Regions from separate parts of the Homo sapiens genome. Here all the other regions are linked to region 3. The links are contacts of gene promoters, found by promoter capture Hi-C in blood cells and fetal thymus (Javierre and others, 2016). All regions are on one chromosome and are shown on one strand. The core of a region is centred on a gene start or on the middle of the fragment in contact, and the rest is flanking DNA. Distances in the headings are between cores, read along the strand shown. Region 1 holds the start of IL21R (interleukin 21 receptor). Region 2 overlaps KATNIP (katanin interacting protein). Region 3 holds the start of LCMT1 (leucine carboxyl methyltransferase 1).

What was found. The method cuts DNA at HindIII sites, captures the fragments that hold promoters and counts their contacts. A CHiCAGO score of 5 or more calls a contact.
Region 1: a contact is called between the fragment with the promoter of IL21R here and the fragment with the promoter of LCMT1 in region 3, in 2 of 17 cell types (M0 macrophages and non-activated CD4 T cells). The highest score is 6.9, in M0 macrophages.
Region 2: a contact is called between a fragment that was not itself captured here and the fragment with the promoter of LCMT1 in region 3, in 1 of 17 cell types (naive CD8 T cells). The highest score is 5.9, in naive CD8 T cells.

The regions. Positions count from the first base shown.
Region 1 is chr16:27,400,291-27,403,423 of GRCh38, forward strand. IL21R (interleukin 21 receptor) reads left to right here and starts at 1,884. Exons shown (of 9, transcript NM_181078.3): 1 at 1,884-2,328. RefSeq lists enhancers at 1,961-2,503, 2,396-2,515. The HindIII fragment of the contact is 2,346 bases long and covers 1,088-3,133 here.
Region 2 is chr16:27,551,394-27,554,872 of GRCh38, forward strand. The region is part of intron 1 of KATNIP (katanin interacting protein); the gene reads left to right. Among named protein-coding and RNA genes, the nearest start is that of KATNIP, 3.0 kb to the left of the region's middle. The HindIII fragment of the contact is 4,528 bases long and covers 1-3,479 here.
Region 3 is chr16:25,110,158-25,113,274 of GRCh38, forward strand. LCMT1 (leucine carboxyl methyltransferase 1) reads left to right here and starts at 1,585. Exons shown (of 11, transcript NM_016309.3): 1 at 1,585-1,839. The coding sequence starts at 1,727. It overlaps LCMT1-AS1 (LCMT1 antisense RNA 1), which reads right to left and starts at 1,398. Exons shown (of 3, transcript NR_120306.1): 1 at 1,239-1,398. RefSeq lists enhancers at 1,008-1,535, 1,313-1,642, 1,733-1,892. The HindIII fragment of the contact is 2,890 bases long and covers 1-2,402 here.

The DNA of each region.
Region 1 (3,133 bases), core at 634-3,133, 2.3 Mb after region 3:
GGGGATTTTATTTTTGAAGACAGAGTCTTGCTCTGTTGCCCAGGCTTGAGTGCAGCACTACAGTCATAGCTCACTGCAGCCTTCAGCTCCTTGGCTCAAGTGGTCCTCCCACCTCAGCCTCCAGAGTAGCTGGGACTACAGGCGTGCACCACCATGACTGTCTAATTTTTAAATTTTTTTATAGAGACAGGGTCTTGCTATGTTGCCCAGACTGGTCTTGAACTCCTAGCCTCAATCGATCCTCCCACCTCAGCCTCCCAAAATGATGGAATTATAGGTGTGCACCGCTGCACACAGCCTTCTCGAGTATTTCTGAGGTTTAAATGAGAGGGTGCATCTTTAAAGTCCTTAAAACCCTGGCACACAATGAGCTTTCAGCAAATATTAGCTCTTTTTACTGTCTCTTCTCCTGATCTTTCAACCACTACAAATTTCAGTGCATGTTATCAGAGAATTCACCCCGAAGATCAAGAGAAAGAAAAACAAAAGCTGGTGTCTTCCCAAGGTTCGTTCTCCAGAGAACACGACACACTTCGGTAGCTGGGAAGAGCTCTACAGGGCCAGGATCCCTCAAATCAACCACAGGGGAATTTGTACCAAGTTCCTCAAAAACAGCTAGAAAAAAAAAGAAAGAAAGAATAGCAAGACGCTTTCTCTTTTTTCTCTGGAGTGGTCACGAAAGTCAACAGCAAGTTGATTCCCAAAAATGAGTCAGCAGGGAGAGCTACAAATTGCATCTTGTTATCAAAACAGCATAAAATAGCCTCCCCCAACTGTGGGACATTTCATCCTGGTATGGCCCCGTTTTCACAGCCTGGTATAAGCTTAGGAATCAAACACACCCAGGTTCAAATCCCAGCTCTAATTCTTCTTGGCTTGTGTGACGTTTCACTCCTCTGGGCCTCAGTCTCTCCATCTGTAAAATGGGACTAATCTTGTCTGCCTCACACTTTGTGGGATAAAGTGAGATCATGTAGGCACCAAAGTAATTCGAGGTGGTGGTGATGGCAGTGGTAGTGGTGGTGGTGGTAGCGGTGGTGGTGGTAGCAATTCTCTTGCTCTCCTTTGGAGACTGCACTAGGCATTAAGCTTGTTACATTTTGTCTCCTGGTTTCTTGAATGTCTTCCAGAAACATCTGACCCTCTCATGGGCCTCTGGCATGTTAGCAAGATGAAAACTCTCTTGAGAATTTCTTTTCTCTATTTTCTTCTTGAATTCTCATGTGTTAATGTCTGCCCTCTTCCTCATAGCTAGGTGCCCCCATTTGACAGATGGGCAAAGTGAGGCATTCAGAGAGGTGATGTGACGTGCCCAAGGGGTCCTGCTCCCTGGAGCTCTGCAGCAGGAGACTGGATCCAAAGGAAATGGAGGCAGAGAGGCATGGGGGTCAAGCCAGAGCAGAGGGTCCCAAGCTCAGACCCTATTAGGCAGGTAAGGCTCAGGAATAAGAAACAGGCTGGTTTGCAAAGTCTGAAAAAGGGGCTTCCGTGGGACCTTGGGCAAGGTTCTGGTCCTTCTCTCTGTGCTGAGGGGCTGGAGTCGGCCACTGAGGACTCTGGGTCCACGGGTGAAACTGTGCCACATCTTCACACCTCTGGCCTCAGTTTCCATATCTGTGCAATGTGGTGGCTCCAGGAGGCACTGCCTGCCTCATGGGTTATGACTGAGAGGCCTGTGGGGATGATGTCACAGGTCCCTAAGAGGGAAGTGTCACCCCGATGGCCCCAAATGTCTTACTTGCAGGTGACCTTTGGTGACAGTGGGTGCCTGCTGTGGGGCCAGGCCCCCTCCCACCTCTTTCTCACTCCCTCCCAGGAGGAGCCCAGCTGCGGGTGGGCGGGGCTGGCGGGGAGCGGCTCACCACATCCTCCTCTTCCTCCCCACTCTGCACATGCGGCTGGGTGGCAGCCAGCGGCCTCAGACAGACCCACTGGCGTCTCTCTGCTGAGTGACCGTAAGCTCGGCGTCTGGCCCTCTGCCTGCCTCTCCCTGAGTGTGGCTGACAGCCACGCAGCTGTGTCTGTCTGTCTGCGGCCCGTGCATCCCTGCTGCGGCCGCCTGGTACCTTCCTTGCCGTCTCTTTCCTCTGTCTGCTGCTCTGTGGGACACCTGCCTGGAGGCCCAGCTGCCCGTCATCAGAGTGACAGGTCTTATGACAGCCTGATTGGTGACTCGGGCTGGGTGTGGATTCTCACCCCAGGCCTCTGCCTGCTTTCTCAGACCCTCATCTGTCACCCCCACGCTGAACCCAGCTGCCACCCCCAGAAGCCCATCAGACTGCCCCCAGCACACGGAATGGATTTCTGAGAAAGAAGCCGAAACAGAAGGTAATTCCAGCCCTGGTTTTCTGCTGGGACCAGGGTGCCTTCTCTGCCCAGGAGGGACTGTTCCCTGCCTGCTGCATCTAGTGTCACAGTGGGAGGGCTCGGAGGACTGTGCCCAAGTCACAATTGGGGACACTGAGGCAAAGAAGATTCATGCAGTGAGGCTGGGCAGAAATGAGGTTGGGGTCTCTTGTTCAGCACAGCTTAGGGGCCCAGCAGCAGGGATGTGGCTGAGACGACCCTCTATCTTGAAAACCAGCCTCCAAAATGTAGCGGGCTGGGGAAGGAAAGCCAGTTTCAAGCCAAACATAACATGTCAATCACCCGATTCTGGGCGGCTGAGTCGGGAGGTGACGGGCATGGGTGTAGAGCCTGATGGGACCCATTCTGTGTCAGTTTCTATGTCTTACCACCTTGATTCCACCCAGTCATTCAAAACAATGGCTGGTGTGCCCATTTCGCAGATGAGGCAATGAGGCTGCGAGAGGTAGAGTGATTTTCCCTCGGTGACTCAACTGGGACGTAGCAGGTCGGGCAGTCAAGCCAGGTGACCCCATGAGCTGTCGCTGCATCTTTCTCATGAAGCACGGGGAACGGGTCGGATGGTAAGAGGCCAACCCAGTTCCCTGTGCATGTGGAGGAGAGGAGGGTGGGGAGGTCAGTGGAGGCTGAGCCTTGAAGGATGGGAAAGGAAGAACATTCCTGGTGGAGGAGCCCTGGGGAGCGGGAACTTAGGACTTGCCGCAGGAATGACGTCTCTGCTCAGTGAAGGCAGAAGACCAGGTGCGGGACATTCAAAGCCAGGAGG
Region 2 (3,479 bases), core at 325-2,824, 2.4 Mb after region 3:
ATGTGCTTTACCATTTTGCCTTCTGGAAAGGTCAATGTAATGTTGCTATAGAACATCAGTCCTCAAACCTTTTAAGCCTTGGGACCCCTGTATGCTCTTACCTCAAAGAGCTTTGTTTATTTATATTTATGATATTTACCATATCGAAGATTTAAACTGGGAAAATCTTAAGATGTCCATTAATTAGTTCCTTTAAAAATAATAAAAATTGGGCCGGGCATGGACTCGTGCCTGTAATCCTAGCACTCTGGAAGGCCAAGGCAGGTGGATCACTTGAGGTCAGGAGTTCGAGACCAGCCTGGCCAACATGGTGAAACCTTGTCTCTACTAAAACTTAGCCGGACGTGGTGACACATGTCTGTAATCCCAGCTACTTGGAAGGCTGAGGCAGGAGAATCATTTGAAGCCGAGATCTTGCCACTGCACTCCAGCCTGGGCAACAGGGCGAGACTCTGTCTCAAAAAAACCCAATAATAATAATAATAATTGGCCAGGTGCAGTGGCTCATAATAATCATAATAATAATTGGCCATGTGCAGTGCCTCACACCTGTGATCCCAGCAGTTTGGGAGGCTGAAGTGGGTGGATTGCTTGAGCTCAGGAGTTCAAGACCAGCCTGGGCAACATAGCTAGACCCTGTCTCAAAAAAACTCCAACAACAATAAACCCATTACTTCTGAACATAAATAATATTTTTAATGGAAAACAATTACATTTGCCTCCAAAAAATTAATAGGAAGAGTAGCATTATTTTATGTTTTTTCAAGTTTATTCAATAGAAATAGAAAAAACTACTCTCATTTCTGCTTCAGGATTCAAACTGTTTTTTGTTATGCTGTTTTGGCTGGTGTGTATGAAGAAAATTTGGCCTCATACAAATATATAATTGGAGCAGAGAGAAACATTTTAATTGCCTTTTCAGATAACTGTAGACACTCTCCTTTCATACTATACAAAATTTAGCAAATGCCAGTTTCTTTTTTCTTTTTTTTTTTTTTTTTGAGAAAAAGTCTCACTGTCGCCCAGGCTGGAGTGCAGTGGCACGATCTCAGCTCACTGCAACCTCTGCCTGCTGGGTTCAAGCGATTCTCCTGCCTCAACCTCCCGAGTAGCTGGGATCACAGGTGTGAACCACCATGCCCAGCTAATTTTTTTTATTTTTAGTAGACATGGGGTTTCCCCATGTTGGCCAGCTGGTCGCAAACTCCTGACCTCAGGTGATCAGCCTGCCTCCATTTCCCAAAGTGCTGGGATTACAGACGTGAGCCACCATGCCTGGCCTGCAAGTGGCAGTTTTTTTTTTTTTTTTTTTTTTTTGAGACGGGAGTTTTGCCGTCGTTGCCCAGGCTGGAGTGCAATGGCCTGATCTCGGCTCACCGCAACCTCCGCCTCCCGGGTTCAAGCGATTCTCCTGCCTCAGCCTCCCAAGTAGCTGGGATTACAGGCATGTGCCACCACGCTCAGCTAATTTTGTACTTTTAGTAGAGATGGGGTTTCTCTATGTTGGTCAGGCTGGTCTCAAACTGCCAACCTCAGGTGATCCGCCCGCCTTGGCCTCCCAAAGTGCTGGGATTACAGGCATGAAGAACCATGCCAGGCCACAAGTGGCAGTTTCTTAAATGTTAGTCACAGTGTGTCATCTGAAGCCTTATAGGTGAACTTTTATACTGTGTTACATTAAAATCCATTGGTCTATCTTGCCCTTTCATTGGCTGCTTTACCCATATATGGTTTTATAACATCAGCCATTGGTCGTTTAGAAAATGTTGGTTCAGTGAGTTATGCAAATCTAAACGTTGACCTTTCAGATGCCATTATACGGTATTTAAAAAATCACATTTGTTAATATCACCACCTATTTCATTTTAAAAAGGAGTTTAAGTATTAGGAAACTATCAAACTCAAGGTAATGGAAACAAGTTTTCAACTTGTTTTCACTTGACAGCTTGAATTTTAACATTGGCAGCAAATATTGTCAGCTGTTTCCTTGAAGTGACAGACTCACTTATTTCATATTTGAGAAAATTTCTGCCAAATTCCCAAGACTGAATAACCAAAATTTGTCTATTATTTTATTTACTGCCATGTACTCACATTTAAAACAAACAAACAATTATTTTTATTTAAGAATGTCCTGATGGTTGGGTTCAGTGGCTCACGCCTATAGTCCCACCGCTTTGGGAGGCCAAGACAAGAGGATCTCTTCAGCCCAGAAATTCAAGACCAGCTTCGTCAACATAGTGAGACTCCATCTCTACTAAATAAATAAATAAAATAAATAAATAAATAAATAATAGTCAGGCATGGTAGCATGCACCTGTGGTTCTAGCTGCTAAGGAGACTGAGGTGTGGGGATCACTTGAGCCCAGGAGGTCAAGACCAGCCTGGGCAACTTAGTGAGACCCCATCTCTGTAAAAAGTAAAAAATTAGACAGGTATAGTGGCTCGTGCCTGTAGTCCCAGCCACTCAGGATCAGTTGAGCTTAGGAGGTTGAGGCTACAGTGAGCCATGACTGTGCCACTGCACTCCAGCCTGGGCAAAAAGACCTTGTCTAGAGAGAGAGAGAGCAGGGGGTGGGGTGGGGGGAGAGAGGAGAGAGAAAGGAAGGAAGGAAAGAAGGGAGGGAGAGGAGAGAGAAAGGAAGGAGGAAAGAAGGGAGGGATGGAAGAAGGGAGGGAGGAAGGAAGGAGGGAAGGTTTCTAGTACATTGTGGTAACATTGCCTTGATTCAGACTGCAAGCAGTTTTACCCACCATTGCTTTGTGTCATAAGTACAAATGTCAACACAGCCAGATGGGGTGGCTCACGCCTGTAATCCCAGCACTTTGAGAGGCCAAGGTGGGCGATCACCTGAGGTCGGGAGTTTGAGACTAGCCTGGCCAACATGGTGAAACCCTGTCTCTACTAAAAATACAAAAATTAGCTGGGCATGGTGGCACATAACTGTGGTCCCAGCTACTTGGGGGAGGCTGAGGCAAGAGAATCGCTTGAACCCAGGAGGCAGAGGTTGCAGTGAGCCAAGATCATGCCACTGTATTGCAGCCTGGGCAACAGAGTGAGACTGTCTCAAAAGAAAAAAAATTCAACACAGTGAAATACTCTTCAAATTATGATTAAAATACTTTTGTCTTTGTGGACCCCTCCTTCTCCCAGGATCTGCACCTTTGAGAAACATTGCTACAGTCCATTTTCAGGAAGGCTGCTTTGTGCCTTCTAATGAGCATCTCTGTACTTGCAGTCTTAGGACGTTATTGTAGCCTAGTAGAGGGGTATGTTCATTTTCAGATTGGCCCCCAAAAGGAAAAATTTATTCTCAGAAGTGTTTACCCTAGGGTCATATTTGACCTCCAAAGAATCCCATTTTCTGTTCTGATTTTTTAAACTTTGATTTACACTTTTTTTTTTTTTTTTTTTTTTGAGACAGAGTCTCGCCCTGTCACCCAGGCTGTAGTACAGTGGCGTGATCTTGGCTCACTGC
Region 3 (3,117 bases), core at 335-2,834:
ATTTGACCTCACTCCAAGGTGTGTATTCTGGGTTTCTGTTGTTGATTTTCTTTTTAAAAAAATGAGTGCAATTCAAAGTTCTTAAAGTATATCTGTTTCCTGCTTCCAACAACTGACAGATAACAAAATGGAATATACAAAGACATTTTTAATTTATAATGTATATTAAACATTATTATACATATACAACTTACAAGGGTTGCTTCTGGCTGGATTCTCTGCCAATCGCCCGAACACTGAGGATTCTGCTAGTTGTTCTGCCCTGAGTTAATTATAGCTATAAAATTTCATCACCAGCAAGAAACCAGGCGACTTCCCCAGTACATCTTGAATTTATACATATATTTTGTACTAGATTTAGTACAAAATAAATCCAAAACATCTTGAATATGCCTCATAATGAAACAGACACACGTGAACCCACTCCCACGTGAGAAACTGAGGATGTGTCTATGTGCTCCTTCCCTGCCTCTCCCTCCCCCTCTTGTGTGCTACCCTCCCGGCTCCCTAAAGATCACCAATATCCTGATTCTTTTTTATTTTTTTTTCTCATGTCTTGCCTTCTCTGTACAGTATTTTACCATATATGTACGTTTCTCTAAACAACATTAGTTTTACTTGGTTTGAACTTTACAAAAGTGTTGTTAGACTTCCTTCTTTCACTGAACATCGTGTTTCTGAGATTCAGCCATTGATGCTGCTACCTGGTAGCTCTAGTTCATTTATGATCGCTGCTACATGGCTTCCTATTGTATTACTTTTCCACACACTACTTCCCTCACTACATTTCTTTTCTTTCTTTCTTTTATTTATTTGTTTATTTATTTTTTTGAGACGGAGTCTCGCTCTGTCGCTCAGGACGGAATGCAGTGGCGCCACATGGGCTTACTGCAACCTCCGCCTCCCGGGTTCAAGCGATTCTCCTGCCTCAGCCTCCTGAGTAGCCAGGACTAAGGCGGCCGCCACCACGCCCGGCTAATTTTTGTACTTTTAGTAACAACGGTGTTTCACCATGTTGGCCAGGCTGGTCTCGAACTCCTGACCTCAGGTGATCGGCCCGCCTCGGCTTCCCACAGTGGTGGGATTACAGGAGTGAGCCACTACGCCCGCCCCCCTCACTACATTTCGAAGGCAATTTTGGGGGCAAAGCCCTCAGCACAGTCGCTGGCAGAGTCAGCACACAACAAAATTTTGTAAAATTGAATGACACTGAGCCCGGACTGAATGTAACAACTTACACATGTTGCTTCTGGCTGGATTCTCTGCCCTTTGCCCGAACGCTGAGGATTCTGCTAGCTGTTCCGCCCTGAGTTAATTATAGCTATAAAATTTCGCGACCAGCAAGCAGAAACCGGGCGACTTCTCCAGACACCTAAGACTACGCTTCCCAGAAAGGATTGCGATACTCTCCTACTGTTTAGTTTCTTTTTCCTATCGTCAAATTTCCGGGTTATGTGGGCGGTGCCAAAATAATTATCCAATGAGCAACTTCGTAGGCTGAGCGGGCAGGAGAATTGCTCAATGAGCGACTCGGAAGAGGAGCCAATAAGCGGAGAGGTTGCTGGGGTAGCCGGCGTGGGCGGCGTCACTGAGCCGCGCCAGCTGAGCCAGGTAGGGCCCTACCCTCTTCTGTTGCTTTCTCCCTGTGGCTCGCGCCGTCCCCCGCCGCCCGTCGACCCCGCTTCCATGTCCCTGGCGGACACAGCTCCCAGGAACCTCCACGCCCATGGCCACTAGGCAGAGGGAATCCTCTATCACCTCCTGCTGTTCCACCTCGAGCTGCGACGCAGACGACGAGGGCGTGCGCGGCACCTGCGAAGATGCTTCCCTGTGCAAGAGGTGCCTGTCGGGCGCGGGGTTCGGGGCCGGCATCTGGGGCGCGGGCCTAGGTGGGAGGTGGGCCTGCATCTGAAGAATACGCTCAAGGCTGGCAGGGATGCAGCCCCCGCCTCGCACGACCCTCGCTTCCCACCTGTGAAGTGCACGGAGCAGGGCTTCATTTATTTAACGAATCGTTTCTGAGCTTTTGCTGTGAGCCAGGCAGGGGGCCAGCCTGGGTATCGTCGATGGGAGCAGGCCCCTGAGCCAGACAGACGAGGCCTTGGGCTTCTTGGAGCTAAACGCTGCTGGAAAGACAGACATGAAGCAAATAGTAGCTCCAGCCTCGATGGGTTACGAGGATGAGAGGTGTAGGTTCTCTCTCTTTTGTAGGTTGCATTCTTTAGGGGGTTGGTGTGATCCCTGTTGTGCACCTGAAACTCAGGATGACGAGGGGAAATAACCCACCCAGAGCCAAGTAATATCTCTTTGCAGAGCCAGTACCGCACTAAGTCTCCACTGTTAAGGGTGTGGTGGTGGGGATGGGGGCGTAGCCAGCAGAGGTACGTGTCAGAGAAAGAGAAAGCTTGAGGCTTGAATGTCCACCATTTATTCTTTCATTCAACAAAATTTTTTGAGACCTTACTTTGTGCCAGGCCTTTACTTTGCAGTGGTTAGTAGGAATTCGATGGTGGAAATACACCAAGAACAAGACAGACATGGTGTCAGACATACTGGAACTCACAGCTTTGTTGGAAAAGAGAGACAGGAAGCAAATAATTACCTATGAAATATATAATTATGATTTTTTTGTGTTGAGTGCTGACAAATACGGCAGTGCCATTAGAGTTTGTAATTTTGTCAGTGATGTTTAAGGTGAGAAGAGTTTGGGCGCGGTGGTTCACGCCTGTAATCCCAGCACTTTGGGAGGCCGAGGTGGGCAGATCACGAGGTCAGGAGTTCGAGACCATCCTGGCCAACATGGTGAAACCCCATCTCTACTAAAAATACAAATATTAGCTGGGTGTGGTGGCGGGCGCCTGTAATCCCAGCTACTCGGGAGGCTGAGGCCGGAGAATCATTTGAACCCGGGAGGCAGAGGTTGCAGTGAGCCAAGATCACGCTATTGCACTCCAACCTGGATGAGAGTGCGAGACTATGTCTCAAAAAAAAAAAAAAAAAAAAGTGAGAAGAAAAGGCTTGAAAAATAGGAAAGTTGTAGGAGAGTGTTCAGAGGAGTGTGAACTGTTAGAGGAACTCAAAAAATGCTTTAAAGGTGGGAGAAGGAGGCTGAGGCCA